4 separate regions of the Homo sapiens genome follow, and regions 1, 2 and 3 are each linked to region 4. Evidence: promoter capture Hi-C in 16 types of primary human blood cells and fetal thymus (Javierre and others, 2016). All regions are on one chromosome and are shown on one strand. Each heading gives the region's core, a stretch centred on a gene start or on the middle of the fragment in contact. The rest is flanking DNA. Distances are from core to core; before and after follow the strand shown. Region 1 holds the start of CCDC82 (coiled-coil domain containing 82). Region 2 holds the start of CCDC90B (coiled-coil domain containing 90B). Region 3 holds the start of CEP57 (centrosomal protein 57). Region 4 holds the start of CHORDC1 (cysteine and histidine rich domain containing 1).

The links. The method cuts DNA at HindIII sites, captures the fragments that hold promoters and counts their contacts. A CHiCAGO score of 5 or more calls a contact.
Region 1: the fragment with the promoter of CCDC82 here is called in contact with the fragment with the promoter of CHORDC1 in region 4 in 2 of 17 cell types (fetal thymus and total CD8 T cells); the score reaches 7.0 in fetal thymus.
Region 2: the fragment with the promoter of CCDC90B here is called in contact with the fragment with the promoter of CHORDC1 in region 4 in 1 of 17 cell types (non-activated CD4 T cells); the score reaches 6.3 in non-activated CD4 T cells.
Region 3: a fragment that was not itself captured here is called in contact with the fragment with the promoter of CHORDC1 in region 4 in 1 of 17 cell types (non-activated CD4 T cells); the score reaches 5.3 in non-activated CD4 T cells.

The regions. Positions count from the first base shown.
Region 1 is chr11:96,388,662-96,392,156 of GRCh38, reverse strand. It overlaps CCDC82 (coiled-coil domain containing 82), which reads left to right and starts at 2,245. Exons shown (of 10, transcript NM_024725.4): 1 at 2,245-2,313. It overlaps JRKL (JRK like), which reads right to left and starts at 2,144. Exons shown (of 2, transcript NM_001261833.2): 1 at 2,084-2,144; 2 at 1-1,674. The coding sequence starts at 1,507. RefSeq lists a silencer at 2,072-2,331. The HindIII fragment of the contact is 1,223 bases long and covers 1,465-2,687 here.
Region 2 is chr11:83,284,558-83,288,457 of GRCh38, reverse strand. CCDC90B (coiled-coil domain containing 90B) reads left to right here and starts at 2,091. Exons shown (of 9, transcript NM_021825.5): 1 at 2,091-2,585. The coding sequence starts at 2,486. It overlaps CCDC90B-AS1 (CCDC90B antisense RNA 1), which reads right to left and starts at 2,338. Exons shown (of 3, transcript NR_186344.1): 1 at 1,911-2,338. RefSeq lists enhancers at 2,054-2,703, 2,126-2,721, 2,754-2,833, 2,722-3,318. The HindIII fragment of the contact is 4,800 bases long and covers 1,637-3,900 here.
Region 3 is chr11:95,789,927-95,793,413 of GRCh38, reverse strand. It overlaps CEP57 (centrosomal protein 57), which reads right to left and starts at 2,916. Exons shown (of 11, transcript NM_014679.5): 1 at 2,671-2,916. The coding sequence starts at 2,715. RefSeq lists enhancers at 2,008-2,671, 2,635-3,104. The HindIII fragment of the contact is 581 bases long and covers 1,947-2,527 here.
Region 4 is chr11:90,221,282-90,224,695 of GRCh38, reverse strand. It overlaps CHORDC1 (cysteine and histidine rich domain containing 1), which reads left to right and starts at 1,647. Exons shown (of 11, transcript NM_012124.3): 1 at 1,647-1,805. The coding sequence starts at 1,742. It overlaps LOC124902812 (a long non-coding RNA gene), which reads right to left and starts at 1,537. Exons shown (of 2, transcript XR_007062978.1): 1 at 1,276-1,537. The HindIII fragment of the contact is 11,072 bases long and covers 1-3,414 here.

The DNA of each region.
Region 1 (3,495 bases), core at 996-3,495, 6.2 Mb before region 4:
TATCAGGTAGAATCATATCACCTTGTTGTTCTAGATAATCCAATAAATTTTCAGTCCACTGGAGGGCAGCTGCATGATTAATATGTTTCTCTGGAATTAGTTCTATTTCCTCCTCCTCATTTTCACTGGATTCATCTGCCTGGCCTTGTGCTCTTCTGATGATTTCGCTATCAGTTAACACTTCATAGCCTGGTTCAGTACTGTCTACTTCAAGCCATTTTTCAAGGTTCTCAGTAGTCACATTTTCCAATCCTTTGGTGTGTTGTAAAATGGCAGCCACAGTAGCCACAGAAATATCTTCAACATCAAAGTCCAGGCTCTCTTTCTCCTCTACCATAGGGAGAATCTTCTTCCATGCTCTGCTAATGGTAACTGGTTTTACTAAGTTCCATGCCATTGCTATTTCATAAAGTGCATCCAACAGAGTTAGCTTCTTCCAGAATGATTTCAGGTCATTACCTTCTTCCAAGTTGTTCTGGAGAAGACCTGCACGATAATTTCTCTTCATCGTTGCTATGACTCCCTGATCTGAAGGCTGAATCAATGAGGCCACATTAGGTGGTAAATATTTAGCAAATATTTGGCCATCATCTGACCTTAGGACATTTTCATTTGGATGTGTTGGTGAATTATCCAACAAGAGCACAGCCTTTTCCTGCAAGCCTTTAGATCTTAAATACTCTCGAACTTGCGGCACAAAAATTTTATCAAACCATTGTCGGAAAATGGAAAGATCCATCCATGCACCTTTTTGGCTGAAATAAGAGACTGGCAGGTTTAAGGTGTCAGTTGATTTAAAGGAGCGAGGTTTCTTTGCTTTCCCCACAACACAAAGTTTAAGTTTGTGTAAACCTGTTGCATTGGCACAACACATGATTGTGACTCTTTCTTCAATTGATTTGTGCCCAGGGACAGTGCATTTACCTTTGATTACTGAAATCCTAGAAGGCAAGCACTTCCAAAAGAGTCCAGTTTCATCTGCATTGTAGATTTGTTCAGGCTGTAAATTCTCTCGTTCAATAAAATCTCGAAAGTTATTACAAAAATCTTCCACCGCAGTCTCATCTCCATTTAATCTTTCATTTCTAATGTTAATCTCTCTAATGCTGTGCCGCTGCTTAAAACGAGTTAGCCAACCGGCAGAGGGGTTAAAATCACCATCCATTCCCAAAGCATAAAAGAAGAACTCTGCCCTTTTTGCACAAATTGGTCCAGATATGGGATTCCCTTTTGCTCTTTGCTGGTTGAACCATTCCAGCATTGCCCTGTCCAATTCCTCATACATGGATGGCTTCATAGATTTCCTCTTGGCCAAAAGACTTGTGGAATCAGAACTGCTTGCATAAGTTATAATCTTTTCCTTATTTTTTCTTATATCCCGAACTGTTGTTTCACCAATTCCATAAATCACTGCCAGTTGTTTGGAAGAACCTCCGTCTTCAAGTTTCTTTATTATATCAAGCTTATCTTTAATAGTCAACACCACACGCTTCCGTTTCCCTGACATAGCGAGGTTCTGGGACTCACCCCACACTCACAATGTAGCAATCCACAAAATCCTTCCTTCTCTTACACAGGCTCACTTCAACAGTCTTAACACACTCAGTCTTTCATCCTTACCAGCAACCTGGTGGCCCTGATCCCCTCCCGGGCTGGGGTTGGCTGGCAAATAGACTGCAGAAGAAGGTGAAAGAGGAGGAAGTTTGAGAGAACAGGCCTTTCTTTAACTTATACGGGCAGTAGCGGAGGCCCCATGTCACCGCGGATAATCCGGATTAAAAGCATGTGTTTTATTACCCCAGCAGCCGTGAGAAAGACTATACCCCCATTGTGGCCACGAACCTCCTGCACGTCCAGATCCCGGGTAACCGCGCGTCACTAACCCCTGCCACACCCCAAAGTTACGACAGAGAGCCGAAGAGCCTAGGAGTCAAGGACTGGCACCCTTCCTCAGGGGAACGGATATATTAGATTCCTTCCCCAGCAGCAGGGCCCTCCCGCCGCGCAGCCCCAGTTTCCCGCGCCAGCTTTAGCCGGGACAGTCCTCCCAGTCCCTCAAAACCCGCCAGGCCCCTCTCCCCACCTCTCTTGCAACCAGGACCCGCACAGCTCCCTGACTATCGCGCGGCAGTCGCTCCGCCCCTAGCCACGCTCCCGGAAGATGATCCCTCCCGCCGCCTGGCCCCACCCCTCGCCCCACCCAGAGGCGGGACTTCCCTTGGTCCCCGGAAGGGGGGGAGGAGCATCGCTTGTCCTGAGCTGGTTGCCGGGGCAGGGGCGGAGGCGGAGGCAGAGGTGGAGGCGCTTTGAAAGGTGAGAGCGCGAGGGCGGTGCGGGGCTGTCTCCCGGCTGGGACTCGCTCGCGCTCCCGGTGCTAATGGTTTATGAGAGGGGCGGGGGAAGCCGTGCCTCCTCGCGGACTAAGAGAAAAATTCCCGCGGGCGCTCTTTGGGTGGGCCGGAGAACGCCCCTCAGCCCTTTGCGCCTCTAACCCTCCTCAGCTGAGCTGCAGTGGGCGCGGTGCCCGTTATTTCCGCCTTGGGGAGGTGCTTGGAACTGATGTAGGGAGCTCGGTTGGTGATTTCTCGGGTTTCTGGCCTTTCCAGACCCTTGTAATTGTTTTCTCGGTGCAGAGCTCTTTTGGGGTCTGGGGGTTTCCGTCGTCCTGCGCGCGTCATCGCGAAGCTTGGCCTGAGGGTCCGGTTTCCTAGCTACTGTGCCCCTCCCTCCTGGAGGCAGAGTGACGGACTAGTGGGCTAGCGGGCGCTGGGTTCCTGCGTCCCGCCAAAGAGGTTTGTAATCATGAAAGTCACCCTTCCGGGTGTTAATTCCTGAGAGGATCTATTCCACTGTCTACCACTCATTCCTGCTGCATTAACCTTCATTGTTAACGGATTTTAATGAATAATATAGTTATCCCGGATACCATGCTGGCAGGATCCACTTTGCGAAATTGTGGACTGTTGGACTGTGATTCTAAGTGGGGGAAATAGGCTTTCCTCTCTTTATGTTTATTTTCTTATATCCTATTTCTGTCATGTTCTGTCTTGTTTTCCTGCCAATAGAAGAACTATGATAAATTTATTCATAGCAGTGTGATAAGAACTTGATCTTAATCATACACTGTAGCCCTCAAATCGTGTATTATGCTGGCTTGTTTTTGGTGTCCCTAGTAATTTCATCAGATTGTGAGCTCCTTGGGAGCAGAGACCATGTTTATTTGAAATGGTGGCAGCACAGTTCCTAGCAGGTGCTTGCATTTTGGTAGATATTCAATAATTATTTTTCGGCTTATTAATCTTTGCTCTCCAAACTGCCATATAAAAGAAAACATCGAAGAGGAGTGATGTTTTACACCCAAGAATGGATCCCTCCTGGTAGAATTTCAAATAATGACCTGGGGTTCCACTGCCTTTCAAATCTGTAAAGTGTTAACTACCACCTGCATTGTTTATACAGCAAGTAGGTGATTTCTAGAATGAATCTTTTCTTGAG
Region 2 (3,900 bases), core at 842-3,341, 6.9 Mb after region 4:
ATCCAGAATCTATAAGGAATTTAAACAAACCAAGAAGTATAAAACAATCCAATTAAAAAATGAGCAAAGGACATGAACACACACTTCTCAAAAGAAGACATACAAATAGCCAACAAACATGAAAAAATCCTCAACACCACTGATCATTAGAGAAATGCAAATCAAAACTACAATGAGATGCCATCTCACACCCATCAGAATGGCAATTATTAAGAAAAAAAATTCACATATTGGTTAGGCTGTGAAGAAAAGGGAATGCTTATACTCTGTTGATGGGAATGCAAACTAGTTCAGCCACTATGGAAAGCAGTTTGGAGATTTCTCAAAGAACTTAAAATACAACTACCATTCAACCCAGCAATCCCACTACTGGGTATATACCCAAAGGAAAATAATTCATGCCATCAAAAAGACACAGAGCTGGGCACCGCAGCTCATGCCTGTAATCCCAGCACTTGGGAGGCCTAGGCGGGTGGATAGTTTGAGCCCAGGAGTTCTGGACCAGCCTGGGCAACATGGCAAGACCCCATCTCTACAAAACATGCAAAAATTAGCCAGTTGTGGTAGTGCACACCTGTAGTCACAGCTACTTGGAAGCCTGAGGCAGGAGGATCAGTTAAGCCCAGGAAGTTGAGGCTGCAGTGAGCCATGCACGACTGCACTCCAGCCTGAGTGACGCAGCAAAACCCTGCCTCAAGCCAAAAAAAAAAAAAAAAAAAAAAAGACACATGCAACCGTATGTTCATTGTAGTGCCATTCACGATAGCAAGGACATGAAATCAACCTAAGTGCCCATCAACAGTGGACTGGATAAAGAAAATGTGGTACATATACACCATGGAATATAATGCAGCCATAAAAATAAGGAAATTATACTCTTTGTAGCAACATGGATGGAACTGGAGCCATTATCCTATGCAACCTAATGCCAAGAACAGAAAACCAAATACACATGTTCTCACTTATAAGTAGGAGCTAAACATTGAATATATGATGGTAAACGTGGAAACAACAGGCATTGAGGATCATTAGATGAGGAAAGGGGGAGACGGACAGAGGGGCATGGGTTGAAAAAGCACCTGTTGAGTACTATGCTTACATCCTGTTGGGATCATTGGGACCCCTAACCTCGATATACCCTAAGGTTTTGCGTTTTGTATTTTGAAACTGGTAAGATCAAACTTTTTTCCCAATTTTTTTTTTTTTTTTTTAGATCGAGTCTCACTCTGTCGCCCAGGCTGGAGTGCAATGGTGTGATCTCGACTCACTGCAACCTCCGCCTCCAGGATTCAAGCGATTCTCCTACCTCAGCCTCCTGAGTAGCTGGGATTACAGGCATGTGCCACCACGCCCGGCTAATTTTGTATTTTTAATATAGACAGGGTTTCTCCACGTTGGTCAGGTTGGTCTCGAACTCCCGACCTCAGGTGATCTGCCCGCCTCGGCCTCCCAAAGTGCTGGAATTACAGGCATGAGCCACCACGCCCAGCCATCCCAGTGTTTTAAATAGCAATTTATATTTCCTCTTCATGAATTGTCTGTTAAAGCAGTTGTTGGCGGGAATCAAGTTTTGTTCTTTCAATGTGCTTCGGGCCTTAGAAATGGTGTTTGTTACTTAGTTGACTCTCACAAAGCTTTGAATACATATAGATAGAAACCTAGCCGTAATTGTTTAGAATCTTGAGAGAGTAAGCCACTAACACCGCACAACTGTGTGCCATTTTACAACTTACAGAGAATATTCATGAGTATTAGTGCATTTTAATACAACTACTGTGCATTGTTGCTTTCAGCATTTTACTATGCGGAGCAGTCTTGAGTAACTGAGGTCTGAGAAGGATAAATGGTGAAAATTCAAGGAATTTCTCCTAGAAACGGAGGAATTCGGCTTCCCTAAAGAAAGGACATACCGACTGAAATAGTTGGTCCTCCCGTGCACCAGAGGGTGAAGCAGCAGGATGTGACGCCTCACGAAAAGTGAGCGGCTTGCTGGACTACACTTCCCAGAAGGTTTCGTTGGCCCTCGCACTACGCAATCACCCAGAACGCTCAGCGGCCGAAAACTTCAGGTTCCAGGCTGCTGTGCGGCTAAATGCGACTCCATCTCCCCCGACCCAAGCGCGTAATGGCCGCTGGCTATCTTGGGGGAGCCAGCTGTTGGACTATGCCCCACTGCCAGGAAACAGGCGCCGGAAGGTTCTCTGACAAGATCTCGCTTTCCTAGGGCGGTGAAGGCGTTCAAAGGTCGGGAAGGGGCGCTGGGAGAAGCGGGGCAGCGCTGAGCCATGCTCGCGAACTGTGGGTCTGTCTGTGAAGAGACCCAGTTTCGTGGGACCACGGTGGCGCCTGCGCTGGGAGGTGAGCTTGTGACAGAGCGAAAACTACAATTCCCAGCATTCCTGTGGTGCCAGAACTACCTTGCCCGAAAGCCTGTGCGAGATTTACCCCGTCTTCCGCCTCCCTCCCACCGGAAAACTCTGAGGACATGAATAGTCGCCAGGCTTGGCGGCTCTTTCTCTCCCAAGGCAGAGGAGATCGTTGGGTTTCAAGGCCCCGCGGGCATTTCTCGCCGGCCCTGCGGAGAGGTGAGGCAAGGCGTCGTGTCATAGATGCCTGAGTGCTCTCTAGGGAGACGATGCCCGTGGGGTCGCGCCTGCTCGAGCGAACGGGAAGAGAAGGTGCCACGCCCTCCTCCCGGATTCACGCCTTGTGCTGGGCGACGCCGCTGCCTGCTGCCCCGACTTGCCCAGCTCGCCCCAAGGGGCGAGGACTGAGGAAAGCACTGCCTTTCTGTTCTTAAAGCGAACCTTTGAAGGCCTGGGCTTCGCGCCCGGCTTCTTTCTCAGCCGTTGTTTCCGTTTTTTGGTGACAAGAGGCTAGTAATCTCGTCAGGAGCCAACGTAAGGTAATCTGTGTTTGAGGGTGTCCTGTTTTCTTTTGTGGCCTGATCAAATTTTGATTTTGTTTTTTTAGGTGCTGGCCTCGAGCCCAGGTTTTTGGTAGACAGCATCATAAATTTCAGGCCACGTCTGCCTTATTCTCACTGGAATTCTCAGTACATTTCAGTCACATTGTAGACTTTGGGAAAATAAGTGAATACTGGAACCCACAAGTTTCCAACCTGTTGGCACCCCTGTTAACAGGGTGTCCTGAAGACATCTAACTTTATTCAGAGAAATGTTTCTAGGGCTAGGTTTTTGTTGTCGTCGTTGTTTTTCACCCCCAGTTTTTTAACTTCCCTCCCAGTTTTTAAACCGTTTTAAGGTTGTCCACAAAATAGGCGAATAGGCACCTCTTATCTCTGTTCACCTTCTTGAATCTTCAGTGCCAGGTACGCTGAGCCATTCGGTACCCAAACACTTCTACGCTGTTATTTATACTCCATATTGTTACTTGTGCTATTTTGCTCATTGTTTCATTTTAATCCACACCAGTAACAGCTGCAGTCAAAACTGCAGTTGTTGATCCTCCATCTGTGAGATTGCTGTTTAGCTGCCAGGGTCATTCACAAGGTCTCTTTTGTTAGGTATTTGAGTGTTTAGCATACATACACATTATGATGGATTTTACAAAAAGGAGGTAGCACTTTTGAACTCCAGGAAGTCATCCAGCTGCCATCTTTGTTGACTTTTACATATCCAAATGAAAACAAAATTAAATGTTCTTAGAGAATGAACTTTGAAGTGTATATCATACTGGGAAATAAATGACCATAAGTACATGTTAATGTTTTAACATAAAAGTTATCCCACTTGAATCTGAGTGTTCTTGGAGAAACCTTAAATCTCTTCTTACAACTAGTAGGATTTGTGTCCTTCCTCACTAAACAAATATTGAATGTTTATTTTATACAAGTAGTTTAAACTTGCCTAATAATGTCAATAATCAAGGGATTTGAAA
Region 3 (3,487 bases), core at 988-3,487, 5.6 Mb before region 4:
AGTCAGAGGGACAAATCAAGAGATTAGGTCATTAATCACCAAGGTTATTGTGAAAATATTACAAGGCTGACATGAAAGACATTCTTGTGTATTTCAACACAATGCTGCCCATACCTCCATATGGAATTAATTTCATTATGCCCAATCATAGTTGCTTTCCTGCCTTTTCCACCAGTCGAAGTTTATCAATTCCAGAGCAATCACTCAATAAACGTTACCTAGAACCTAACTGAAACCTATCGCCCTACTTCCATGCTGTTCACATTTGAGATTTACATGGTCACTGCTTCCCAAAGACGGTTATTTATGAATCTACTTGTTAAAAATCTTTGCCTGTAAAGCATCTCAATGTACTTATAACTAGCTCCGTATGAGTTTATCAATGTCGAAAACAGTTGAATATAACAGTTGTTAATCTTCATAACCGTGAAATCTGAATACGAGTTGTGTTCTCAGTTCATGGTATAGTTTTAACAAGTTTTTTTTTTTTTAAATGTTGCCTACTGTTAAGATCAGCTGTTTGATAAGCTAAGTGCTTTTCCAACGCTGTTGGAAATGGCAGCCTTATTTCTGATGGGACATCTAAGCAGGACGTTTTCTTACGCACCAAGAAACCAACTAAATTTAGTCATTTTTGTTTTGAGAAACAGTAACTTCCAAAATAGACATTTTGATGTAGCAGATTGAGTTATGGTTGTTATACTTTGATTTGTGGAGGTTCCTAGATATTCTTAGTGTACCCTTGATATTTAGAATCCTATTAAAGCTGAGCTTAGCACAAAAAAAATATGCTTTCCTAATGAACAGTCTTTGGTATTTCTGTCAAGGGTACCGTATAAGTATTAACAGCTGACTATATCCCAGTGCCAATGCTCACCTAGGTGTCCTTGGCATAGTGCAGCTCAATTAAACGTTTATTTAATATTTTATTTTATGGAGACAGGGTCGCTCTGTCGCCCAGGCTGGAGAGCAGTGGCACTATCATACCTCACTTCAGCCTCAGTGATCCTCCCGCCTCAGCCTCACTAGTAGCTGGTATTACAGGCATGAGCCACGCACCCAGACTCAATTCAACATTTGTAAGAGTATTCCTTGTTCGGTCTCCAAGTGCTTAACTTTTGAGAGCCGTGAAAAGCCCTCTTCTCCCAAGTTTAATCACATCTCCTATAAAATCTCATCCATCTGCTGACACTTCCAATAGTTTTTTACTTTTTTCTTTTACTGACCTAATCCTGAATAACCTTAAATTGCTGCTTTCCTTACTTCTCCTTAACTTCCCCAGACCTCTCTGCAAACTTCTAATTCCCATTCGGCTGAAACACTGTAATACTTCTAGTCCCATTATTACAAATTCTAACAAGTCTCCAAAAGCTGAAACTGACTTCTCCAAGGTGACCAGGCTTTCTTAGCGTTTCCAACTCTTTCCCCCTAGATCCTAGAAAATAACTTTACCCTGATACTCTTCTAGTTCCTTCCCTCACCATCCTTCTTTTTTCACGTTTTTACCTACGTTTCCAATTCACCTCATCCAGCTCTACCTCCGTATTACTTCTTCTCATTCCGAACTATCTCAAGTTTCCTAAAAGCACCTACTGTTCTAGCACATACTCCAAAATTCCCGCACTGCCTTTTTCTCCTTTCTCTACTCTTGGGACAAGCAATCACAATTCCTTCGACACGCAACTAGCTCCATCTTCCCTTCTAGGAAACCTTCTCTAGCCTACCCAAGCACTGTTAATCACTCCCCTCTAGATTATTCTACTACGGTAGCACTTCCTAAACTATACTGCGCAGTAATCACTAATTACGTGTAGTTTCTCTTCAGTGTTTTTCTCCTTCAAAGCAGGGTTTCTATTCTGTTCATTTGGACCCTAACAGTATACCAGGCATCGAACATTTGCTAACTGGAGAAATAAGAGCTCCAACATTTACTTCCTATCAAAGCTTTCCAATGCCGCGGTTTTCAAAAACCTAAGCATTCGACACTCCAATTTGAGAAATACCAGTGAATACCAGTAACTAAACTGGATGGTGACATTTGATGAGGCGAAAACAATATTTAAAATCAATTCCCCCTGTCGCCTCTCCAAAAGGGCATTTCCACATTGAAGTTCCAGTAATTCTAGGTGACAGGAAGCGCGCGTTCTGGCTACGAGCATCACACAACGAAGTTAATGTGGATGGGAGTGGGAGGCACTGCAGGGATAGGAAACAGCATAAGCAACGACTAGTAAGCGCTCGAGAGACGGCGGACTACTATTCTGCAACGTCTCTTAAACACACTGGCGCGCCTCACCTGATCTGGCGAGTTTCCTAGAGGGGCCGCTGAACCCACGTGACCAAAAGAGCTACATTTTTGCAGGCCAGGGAGTGGGCAGTTATCCCAGCCGGCCCTTGGGAATGTTAGGCAACCGGGGTTGGTTGCTACGCCAAAAGGTGAATAAGGGCTGGGGAACAGGGGCGGCCAGCCCAGTTTCACTGGGAGCCAGAGGGTGCAGCTTCGACACAGCCACAGTGAATGGAAGCTTGGGGAGCGCGGGGCAATCTAGGCATTCCCGCCGACCTCCAGAATTGCGTCAGAAGCTGGACTGACAGCGCCCTGAAACGTGAGGAAACTCAAAGAGGCGCTTAGGGCCGACGTGGGGCCCACTCGCGCCAACTGCTTCTTACCGACAAGTGAGAACCAGAAGCCGCAGAGACAGACGCCGCCGCCATCTTTCAGCCTGCCCAGGGGGTCTCCGCACTTCGGGGGCGGTCTAGGTTCTCGTGCTCTTCTCCAAGACTCGGGAGCCGCCCACCAGCGGGGACCCTAGGCTGAACCCCTGATGGAAAAGGGCAAGGGTGCTGGTGCTGGGCTTGGAAACCCCTGCAACACACCCCCTCAGGGCCGCCTACGCTCACAGCTTACACAGAAAGGGCAACACGTCCTAACGGACGTCTTTCCTAGCCAATCAAAACAGCAGACGTCTTTCTGTAGTAGGAGAGAATCCGCCTCTTCCCTGGTGACGTCACAAGGTAGCGCGTAACGGGGCCCGCTGGGGCAGACAACGCCGGGGTTACAGGCCGGCTCTGCGGGGATTCTACGGAGGGTCGGGCCTCCTCCAGTAAGAAGCGTGGGCGAGTAGTGGTGTCGCCAGTGGCAACTGAAGGGAGTAATGGAGATAAAACAAAAGCGAAGGCGAAGTTAAAGCACTCCACGAGTTCCCTCGGATTAAACGCCGGAGAGAGCGTGAATTTGCCTCGGGGACGCCTCTCCAGGTGAAGTATTTACCTTTTGGCCAATAACAAATAGGATTAGGAGGGACTTAACGATTTAGTCCAATAGAAAGCAAGGGAAAAAAAGTTGCGGCAGAGAACGAGCCTTTCGCGAACATTTGCTCAATTGGATTGGGGCGCTCTCAGCCAAACCTGGGACTGGCTGTTAGAAATAGCCGCGACCGCAGACCTTTGGGCGGGGCAGGTTCAAAGCGGATTTCGCGCGCTGAGA
Region 4 (3,414 bases), core at 398-2,897:
GGAATTATTGTTGACTTTGTTCTTAGTATACTTCTGCGTTTTCCAAATTATCTACCATAAGCAATTATATTCTGATTGTAAAATGCTACAGATGAAAAACTAGAAATAAACATTAAAATTATTTAAAAGGTTTAGTTCACTAACAATCCTGGTAATGTTGCATTGATACTAGGATACTCAAGACAACAGATTTGGTCACAACTAAAACTTTTTAGAGCTCTCCACTTACTCATTTCCAATTGTGTATGATCAATTTCTACGGTCTATTACATTCACAGCCGGTGCAATTGTAAATTGGTACCACCTTTCGGAAAGCAATTGGCTCTATATATCTTTAAAATCTTAAAGTTATTTAAAAAGCCTTATGCCCTTTACCCCAGAACTGTCGCTTTCCAAAAATTTTCCTAAAGGGGGAAATTCGAAATAAGAAAAACAATACACAGGTTGAGCACTGTAACTTATATATAATAAAGTTGGGGAAATTAGAGAAAGGTTAAATTACAGTGCATTTATTCAACAGAATACTCCGTCATTTGTAACAATGACTATGAAACAAAATAGAAAAATACTCACGTTAGGTTAAATGAAGAAAACATACCTATCTATGGTGGATCACAATATGAAAATTTAATACTTCTAGGTAGAAGAAGAGAAAGAGAATATGAAAAACTAAAAAGTCTTTAGGGGTAGGAGGACGTGAGCAGATCTCTAAATAACCTTGAGATCAATGGAAACAGTGTATAGATTTTTAGGTTCACTTATAAGCTGCTGATCTTATTTTAAGATCCTTCAGTATATGTTATCAAAAAGTGTTTGCTTTTCTTGCAAACGCCCATGTTTGGGAAATATGCAAGTTGAAGCCAATGCATTACTGTACTTTTTATAATGCACCTGAAGTTTTACTAGCTGTTCCAAGAGTGGTGTACTGAGTATTGATAAATCGTTTAAGTGGAGGCTCACATGAAATATTAACTATTACCCCAGGGCTTTAGAGCAACTGTGATCAATTCTGGCACAGCATCAGATCCATAATTTTCTTTGCTACTCTGATTTCTACGTTTTTTGTATTTTCAAAGTAATGTGACCGCAACTGTTAAGTTATTAAAATTGCTCCTGAGATGAGGGCACTCGAGACACAAACACACGGAGAGGTTCGTCCGCTATTCCTCTCATTTACTAAGCTCACACGTCTACCCTGAGGATTTGGAAACACTGTATGATTCTGCACTTACTGTGCACTTATCCCTTAGTGCTAAGGGGTAAACAGATACCCACCGGGCTGTCTAAGGCGCAGCCTCAAGGCAAGGAAGAAGGGTGCTGGGTCGCAGGGGATGAGAGGGCGGGGCGGCCACTTTGCTGCAGGAGATACCCAAAGCCAGTTAGCACTGAGGAAGTCAGAAGAGAATTGTCAGTCTCTCGGACACCTTCATTTTCTGCCCCGGAAATTTCTCCTCCGCTGTTGTCTGGGCTCCACTTCCGACCCCCAGTTGCTACCAGCTGTAGTCCGACCTATCGTGGCCCGGGCTAGTGCCAGCCTCCCGCCGCTACCTCCGCCTCGTCCCTTCTCCTCTGCGCCTGCGCGACCGGAAAATTCGCGAAGGTTCCTGAAACGCAACGGATCGTTTCCGGAAGCCGGTAGCCGCCTCAGTCGTCAGACCGGTGCTAGCGACACGGGAGTGGCAAACGCATCCTCTTGCCGTTCCCGGTGTTTGGGCCTTGCCTGTGACGGTGGGAAAAGAAAATGGCCTTGCTGTGCTACAACCGGGGCTGCGGTCAGCGCTTCGATCCTGAGACCAATTCCGACGGTAAGAGGAACGCGCCGCCAGCCCTCCCTCCCCTCCACCTCATCAGCAGGGGAGGCCCTTTGGGCCGGAGGGTGTCCGCGGATCTCCTGCAGCCGTCCTCGCGCGGCCCCAGGTCCATGCCCCTCCTGGGCCTCCCTTGGCTGCCCGCGCAGCCCGCCGGCCGCCCCTCTGTTGCGCCGCGTTCCCTTGGCGAGCGCCCGGCCCCGGCGCCTGACTGTCCTCTGCCACTGCGGAGAGAGACGCTCCCATGGATCCACGTGTTTCCCCCGTCGTCCCCGCACTCCTTTTAAGTCGCCTGGAATTTAGAACGAACACGTTTCTCCTCTGGCCCTCCAGTCTCTGGGGAAGCAAAAATTAACGAGGTACTGGTGAGCTTGCTTTGTAGTTCCCGAAGTAGTGATGGCTGTGATTGCCTGCGCGAGAGGGAGAGGTGGCCGGGATGAGCAGCGGGTTGTCCTAGCATGTAAGCTCTGCCTTGTAGAAGTTTGTGTTCAGTCGATCCGCTGTTACAAACCTCTTACAAGTGTTCTTGGTAAGGGACATTACTCTGTATCTTCACGCTGTTTTGATAGGTTCATCCTGGTGGTACGTTAGTTATCTTTTTATTACTAGCGGCATTTGTTGCTTGTTCTTCTTGTGGCCTCCACGTTTTACTACCATGCCTACTCCCGTATAAAATGAGTGAATGTCATCTACAGCACCTAGATGTCGAGTTAAGGATCCAAAGCGAAAATGACTATTAGGTGAAGGACGGGAAATGATCAGTGAATTGAAATTTTGATTGACAAAGAAGTGAGATGATTCCTTGCGTATCGTGAGAAGTGACAACACGTTTTCAGATTGAACTAGCATTTAGTTTATATTTTCTGCATGCCAGCCATTATTGCTTTATCTTATTTAATCTTCATAACCACCCTGGGACGCATGTAATGTTAATTAGACCCATTTGATAGAGAAGCTCAGTTCAATGAGGTTGTATTAATAACATCCTTCATTATTGTGGAGGAGATGAAAACTGATGCCTTTTGAACTCTTCACCTCTGAGATGTTTGAAATACTTATTTTTGGCACACAGGTAAATTGATAGCGTTATTTAAAATAAGACCATTGATACAGAGTTTTAAGGAAAAGGAAAATCCAACCTATGCAATACTCAAGTTACCGCCACTGACATTTTTATGATGCAAATATGATGCTACTCATGAGGAAAATTGTGAGATTTCAGTCGATGACAAAATCGAGAAACGATTTTAAAGCCCTTTGGTGTTGGCAGCCTATGTAAAACATTAATTGCACTTATGTCTGCAGATATTCTACTTTAATATAGAATACAGGGGAAAGACTGACGCTTTGCTTATGAGACAATAAAGTTCAGGGGCGATAGTCATTTGTTGGAAGTCTGTATCCATGTGTGAATTGGTGCAGTGCCTAGGAAACAGAAAGCGACCAGGAAAACCGTCTCAAAACTTGGGTGGTCAGCAGTACTAGTTACAGCAGAGAAATTCCAATAAGTATATTTACTTTAGCGAAATGACGGTTTTTTTAGAGACTTAGAATACATTTTTCAAGTAAACTGATTGAGTGAATGGAAGGAGAAGAAAATGGAGAT